2 separate regions of the Homo sapiens genome follow, and region 2 is linked to region 1. Evidence: promoter capture Hi-C in human tissues and cell types (Jung and others, 2019). All regions are on one chromosome and are shown on one strand. Each heading gives the region's core, a stretch centred on a gene start or on the middle of the fragment in contact. The rest is flanking DNA. Distances are from core to core; before and after follow the strand shown. Region 1 holds the start of PHACTR1 (phosphatase and actin regulator 1). Region 2 overlaps PHACTR1 (phosphatase and actin regulator 1).

Region 1 (3,545 bases), core at 143-2,642:
TATTTGTTCACTTTGTAAAGTATTTTAAATTTCTCTTTCTTGGTCAACTCTCCAGAAATGACTGACTTCCAAATCCACCACCTACCCCCTGGGAATCAACTCTATTTTTCACATTTCCAGTTTAGCATCTCTTTCTTCAATCACACATTCATTTGCACTCACCTAAAGGTTTGGTCAGCAGCATAGACTTATACTCTCTCTCTCTCTCTTTCTCTCATCTATGAGTCATTACAATTTCAGTAGAATTACAATAACGAGTTCAGAACCTGTCGCCCACACCTCACAGTAAGTAAAAGGAACCAGAAGACAGCTTTCTCCTCTTATAAATGTCAAGTGTTCAGCATGTCTCCAGTGGGTGCTGAATAGAAAAGTAACCTTAAAGAAGTCAGTCCTTGGGTTGGAGCAAAGCTTTCAGAATTCAGAGTCCATAGTTGACTTTCCTACAAGGGCATATGATTGGTAGTTTCAGCTTCCTTTTTCATGAGGCTTAACTGTCTGCAGCACCGGCTTGGTGTCTGATCTGTTCTGATCGGGTGGGAGAGGGAGACCCCACAAAACAAACAGCAGAGGATTTTCAGGTTTGTTTCAAGGGCAGCCAGCCGAGCTGTGTATAGGGAGTGGGGGGACAGGGGTGGTGTTGATGGTCTTCCTTCCGAGGCTTATCAAATGTAAATGCTCTTTTCTTAACAAGCTGACCCACTGTACACCACACCATACTAATGAGCAATTCTGCTTGGTCAACAAAGGGTGCAAGAGGTTGTGGAAAACCCACAGTAGGGCTTGCATTTGGCTATCACTATGCCCTGCATGAAGATCTCAAAGTACTGTGCCTAAAAGTCATTACTGAGGTTTGGTAGGAAGAATATTAAACCAGAATAACTTGAGATACTAGCCAAAGTTTATTTTTGTTGTTGGTATTATTTTGTTACATTCAGACAGAGAGAAATGCATTTAGGCAGACTGGCATGATCTGCGCTGGATATTTGACCAGGCAATCAGAAGCAAGGAAAGGAAGAAAGCCAGGCAAGAGGGAAGGGGTGACATCAAACGTGCCCTCTGTATTTCGCTCCAGAAAACAGCTCACAATTATGACTACCTGCCTTGTTTTGCAGCTCAGCATAAAAGTGGTGTTGCACCAAACCCTACTGGAGCAGCCTTCATGATTAGAAAGTACTCCACACCTTGGAGAGCTGAGGAGACATGAGAATAATTTTAAATGCAAATTAAATTGAGGGGGTAGCAGAGAAGAACACATAAAAGACAGTAAAACAAAACCTTTCAATTTTCTTAAATTAGCAGTCTAATGTGTTCTAAAGAGCAGCTCCACTCAGATCTCTTCTTAAGGGTTGCATTTCATCACAGTATAAATGGGCAAATCCATCACTTCCCTCTGCTCAGTGCTCTTGAAGCGAGATTGAAGGGAAAATTAGAAGCTGTTCATTTGTGCTTGCGGGCTCAGAAGCGTCGCACTGCTTTGTTTTGTACTCTACCGTGTCCTGTTGAAAGGGGTCAACAAGTGCCGGTGAGTATCCGCTAACTTCCAGACTCTTCCTTTCAAATATCTTTTTGGCTAATTTTCCTTTGCCGGGGATGGGGGTTGTGGGGGGAGTGGGGATCTCCCACAAAATCTATGCTATAATATGTCTTTCAGAATCTGGGAAATTTCAGACAGCTTTTTAAGCTTCTTCCAGTGACTGATTTGCAGAAGGGAAGAGTTATTTTCAGCCTAGATGCCGGTGGCTGTTCTGTGTATTAATTATAACAGGGGAATGTCTAACGTATGTTAAGCTAAAATGGCCTTTCCCTAAACTCCCCCATTCCCTGCCACTCTTAGGCCAGCATTAGGGTAATAACTGGTGCCCCCACAAAAATTTCTAGACAACTTTTCTATATATTAAATTTTTAATCATTTCATATTCTATTCTTTTGTAGCTGCAAATCAAACTAAGATTTGGGATTATGAAAATAAACAATGAAGACATAAATCTGTTTTGTTTTTTTTTTAATGACTATGGCACTTCTCTGCCTAAGAGATAGGGGGCTGGGGAATAGCCCTGCATGATGTATGCATGTGGATTTGATGATTTTCTGCCAAAGTTTTACACGGGAAACTGGTAATTTTCTCCCTTCGCAGGGGAGGGTGCAGAGGCTGAGGCTGGCGTCACCTTCCGTTGCTAAGGTAACGTGCTCTGGCCATTTTATCTGATAAAGGAAGTCCAGTGGACTGTATGCATTATTCATCACTGTTCTAATCAAACAATCAAAATCGTTTACTTTCACCGGGAATATTTAGCAAGATCAAAGACACTCTGGCTGGAACGGCTCTTGTTTTACCGCTGACAGATAGCCTTTGATTTTTATTTTTTGCAGTAAGTATATTTGCTATTGGGGTACCTTTGGGTATTTTTAAAAGTTTTGTCTTACCGGACTTGGTTTCTTAAATTAAAATACATACTGTTAGAAAGAGAAACCAATTGGATTAGACTTCCAAGCTTGGTTTTAATGACTTTGTCTTGTTAATTCTTTCCAAAAAAATATTCTGCAGAAATAGAGATAATTCATTTGTGTGAGTATCAGGGAAAGGCTACATAGGCTTGAAAAAAGAACCCAACAGGCTGAATGTTTTCTGGGGAAGTATATTAGCTTTGTGACAGGCTAGTGTATGATAATATAGGGATCACTGTAATGCTGCAATCATTCTTGCTGCTCTACAAACCACAATTGTTTCTCAAAAATCAGCCCCTGCCAGGCACAGGCAGGTGACGATCCTCTAGCACTTTATAAAATGTGCTGAAGGGAATCGCCGGAAAGGAAGGAATTCAAAGCATTTGTACAGCAAATATGTCAGTGTGTGTCATAAACGCACGGCATCTATGAGTGGAGGCTCGGATTCCCAGGCAATTTTCCCTGCTCCAGGGGAATCCGAAAGTCCCAGGATGAGCTGAGGATCAACACTCACAACGGCTGACACTTAATGACGCTATTTATCAAATAGACCTTTTGAAAACTGATAGCATGTGAATTTAACAGTATATGTTCCAGAGAATATAAAGCAAGGAAAGGCTGGTATGTTATCTCTCTTTAGATCAGATCATCTGTTTTTCCTGAGTAGAATATATTACTTTTAATGAATGTTGGCTAAATGCGGCATTTTCTCACACGGTAGGAAAGCTATGCTGGGGGGTGGCTTTAGAATTGCAAATGTCAATCAAGTAGTAGAATATTATAATGGGATATTCTTATTCAAACATTTTAAAGTACATCTATATATACACTTTATACTTGACGTCTAAAATATTGTGGATTTTTTTTTCCTCTTTATAGGTGTTCCAGTGTTTTCTCTCAAAACTCTGTGTTTGGAACATCAAGGATGGATTATCCCAAAATGGATTATTTTCTGGATGTAGAGTCTGCTCACAGACTCTTGGATGTTGAGTCAGCTCAAAGATTCTTCTACAGTCAAGGAGCTCAAGGTAATAAAATAAGAAAAAGAAATTCCTCTTATTTGCACGTCGGTTTTATATGAACAGCCATGTAGGCTGTAG
Region 2 (3,704 bases), core at 347-2,846, 350 kb after region 1:
TGGGAGGCCAAAGCGGGAGAATTACTTGAGCCCAGGAGTTTGAGACCAGCCTTGGCAACACAGAAAGAGCCCATTACCACAAAAAAAAAAAAATTAAAAATTAGCTGAGTGTGATGGCGCATGCCTGTAGTCCCAGCTGCTGGGGAGGCTAAGGTGGGAGGATCACATGAGCCCAGGAGATCAAGGCTGCAGTGAGTCATGTTTGCACTACTGTACTCCAGCCTGGGCAATGGAGTGAGACCCTGTCTGAAAAAAAAAAAAAATTATGACTTGAAAAGGATTGTTGGGGGAAGGGACAGAGAGTAGTGAGAGATGAGGCTGAAGACATGGACAAGAATCTGCTCATGAAGGGTCTTATGAGGTATGTTAAGGAGTCTGGGTGTTATCCTAATGCAATAGGAAATTATGAGAGGACTTGCATTTTAGAAAGATTATTCTCTATATTATGGGAAAAGCTTGGAGTGGCACCAAGTGGTGTTTACAAGTTTATAATATAACAACTTCTATAAATATTGTGTTGGTAATGAGAGAAAATTTACTTGTGATAGAATTAAGATGATACCTCATTCCTATCACATCAAATGGAATATTGTGTCCTTATTGATTCTGGTAACAAGAAGACTGGTTAGCAGGTGGTTGATTATAATGTTGGGGAGAGAGGGAGATAGCCTAGACTAAAATAGTGACATTAGGAACTGAAGACTGTGAACAGATCCAAGAGATATTTAGGAGACAGAACGAGCAAGACTTGATTACAGATTGGATGTGGAAGTGGGGAGAAGAATAAAAAACCACTCTTGGATTTCTCACTGAGCAATTAAATGGATGGAGGTATGTTCTGTGCAGGAGATGCACGAGGGGAGAAGAAAAGACACACACACAATATCTTTAAGGGTAAACAAGCTTTATCCCACGTAAATGGCAATGCAGATATAATAAGCAAATGATATAATAAGCAAATGGTATAATAAGCAAATTAATATAATAAATTGCAACGGGAAGGGGAGAAGGGAAAAGATATATATATATATATATATATATATATATATATATATATATATATATATATATATATCTATATATCTATCTATCCACACTTGCCAGACTATGGAGGATTCACCACCAGACCGGGAAGCAACAGCCTGGGCTCCAGAGTCAGCCGCTTGTCTCTGCACAGATGAGGAGACGTCTCATGAAGCTTCAGCGTGGTCTGGGACCCTAGGTCTTTTTGTAACAAGTTGTTTGGCATGAGGCCCAGTCACAAAGGCCCTTTGCGACTGGGCTCAAGGAACGCAAAAAGTCAACTTGATTTTTGTGATTGTCTATTGTTTTTCAATAACTAATATATAGGAATAGATTGAAATACAGATTTCTCCAAAACAGTGCTGGATGAACGCCTCAACTCATCTGTTCCGGGACTTGGTGACCATTGTTTGTGTCCATGTTCAATTGAGTTCAAATTTAATATTTAACTTTTCCTCCACATTGTACCATTGACTAAGTCAGATACACTGAAGAGGAGCAGATTTGTGAGGGGAAAAGATGAATTTATTTGGGGCCATGCCAGCTTTCATGTGCTTCTGAGACATTCAGATGGAGGGCTCCTTGGGTATAGATAACTGGGGTCAGGAGAGGTCTAAGAAATGCAGATTGGAAGTCATCAGCACCTGGATGATCATGGAAGCCCTGGGATGAAAACTCCAAAGAGAGAAAGTAAAGTGTGAAGCAAAGTCGAGGGTACAGTAACACCCTGAGGGCCACCAGCCTGTGAGTTCTGAACAGAGGCAGCAGAGCCTACAGAGAAGACAGATGGCCCACTGGAGTTTGGAGGAAAACCAGGAGGGACTGGTGGTCTCGGTGAACCAGAGGAGAGAGTTTCAGAAAGAAGAGTCCACCCTGGCAGATCTTGACAAGATGGTGTCCGGTGGGCATAGACAACTCATCATTGGTGTCCTTTGGGATTATGACTTTAGGGAAGCCACGTAGCTGGGATTTAGATAGCATGTGGTTGAGGAGTAAATGAGAGGAGAGGAGGTAGTCATCTTCTTTTAAGATGTTTGGTTGAGAGGGAAAATGAGAAATATATAGCAAACAACAAAAGGGGATGTGAGCTTGAGGGGGATGTTTTTTAAGATTGGTTAGATTGTGTCAAGCTGCAAAATTTGCCTTAACATGGCTGTGGCATTCTCAGGGAAATTGAAACATCAGCAAAGTGACTGTTAAGCCAAATAAATATATTTGCACACATTTTTCAGCAATGACAATTCTCGTGACTAGGAAAAGCAAACATGCAAATAATCAGAGCACTAGTTAGCATCTGATTTTAATAAGAAACTATCAAACCAAGTTGAATAGCCTTCAGCATCTGGCCAGATCACATATTCCCTTTGGGTGAATGATTGGAGCATTTCATTTCTTCTTTAAAAAAAAAAAAAAAAGATCCAGCATAGGTAAGCAGGGAATATTTTTAGTTGTGTATTCATCATGACCCACAAAGGGACCATCTAGTGGTTAGAAAGCAAAGCAGACTTAATGGTCCTGTTTTGTTTTTAAAAAATCTCTAACAGGTACAGACTAAAGACTATGGAAATCTGTTACCTTCTAGGGCTGGATAAAAGATGTAATTGTTTCTTCTCAAAGTGAACTTTATCCAGCACTCTCTGCGTGTAAGTCCAGGCTATAAAATCCTTAATAGCATTGACTCTGCTGATATCCTCTTGTCTTCTAGTGTTGAGCAGAGCATCTGGCACAGAATAGGTACCGGATAAGTACATGTTGAACTGAAAGTCAGTAAGACAGCCAGCCAGATATTAATATATTTTTAAGCTTCTCTGTTTACTAAGATCTGAAAGAGGAGAGGAGGTAGGGTACTTATGGATGCGTAAGATGGAAGGTCCCCGAGTTTGAAGAATTTGCCATCATTCATGATTGTTTTCCAGTTTTTCATAGTTGTGCACAGGTTAGGCTAAATGACTGCGTGTGTTAAAAGCTCAGGTTGTTTGGACAGCATTATTGTTTGGGTTATCTATTGCTGTGTTACAAAACCCCCTAAAACATAATGGCTTAAAAACAGCAACCTCTGTATTATCTCTTATGGCTTGGGGATTGACTGGACTCAGTGAGATTGTTCTTCTGCTGGTCTCTCTTGGGGTCTGTCATGCATTTTCAGGTGGATTGCATTGGAGTCATCTGGAGGCTCCCTAAGGTGCGAGGAAAGCTGGGCCCCTTTCCCTGTTTATGTTGTCTCAGGGCTTTTCCATGGGGTTTCTTCCTATGGTCTCTCCAGCAGGGAGCTGAGGGCCCCTAAAAGCACAAAATAAGATGCTTCCATGCCTTTTAAAGGCTTAGGTACAACATTGGCTTAGTATTACAGTCACATTATTCTAATGGTTAAAGCAAGCCATGGGACCAGCCCAGATTCATTGTTGGGTGGACTAAACAAGGGTGTGGATGCCAGAACAAGGTTCATTGGGGCTTGTCTTTGGAAGCCAGCTACTACCATTGTTCAAAGTGTGGCAAGACAACAGCTGCTCCTTGTTTCCTTCTTCCCAGGTAGAATGTGCTTCAACAATGTTACACTGATGACAACAGCAGGAGCAATCTTCTGTTGTGCTCTGCTCATATTACTATGTCGTATGAAATATACTTGACCCTTTCCTTGCCTTATGGACTTGAATCTTGCATCAGACCCATATAGTATTATT

The links. Contacts are between HindIII fragments. The study calls those that stand out against the background at their distance.
Region 2: a contact is called between a fragment that was not itself captured here and the fragment with the promoter of PHACTR1 in region 1, in 1 of the 25 tissues and cell types used here (mesenchymal stem cells).

Annotation. Positions count from the first base shown.
Region 1 is chr6:12,715,375-12,718,919 of GRCh38, forward strand. PHACTR1 (phosphatase and actin regulator 1) reads left to right here and starts at 1,393. Exons shown (of 15, transcript NM_030948.6): 1 at 1,393-1,522; 2 at 2,135-2,369; 3 at 3,325-3,473. The coding sequence starts at 3,371. All of the region lies in intron 1 of LOC107984015 (a long non-coding RNA gene), which reads right to left. The HindIII fragment of the contact is 3,467 bases long and covers 1,045-3,545 here.
Region 2 is chr6:13,063,531-13,067,234 of GRCh38, forward strand. The region is part of intron 5 of PHACTR1 (phosphatase and actin regulator 1); the gene reads left to right. Among named protein-coding and RNA genes, the nearest start is that of TBC1D7, 260 kb to the right of the region's middle. The HindIII fragment of the contact is 3,368 bases long and covers 1-3,280 here.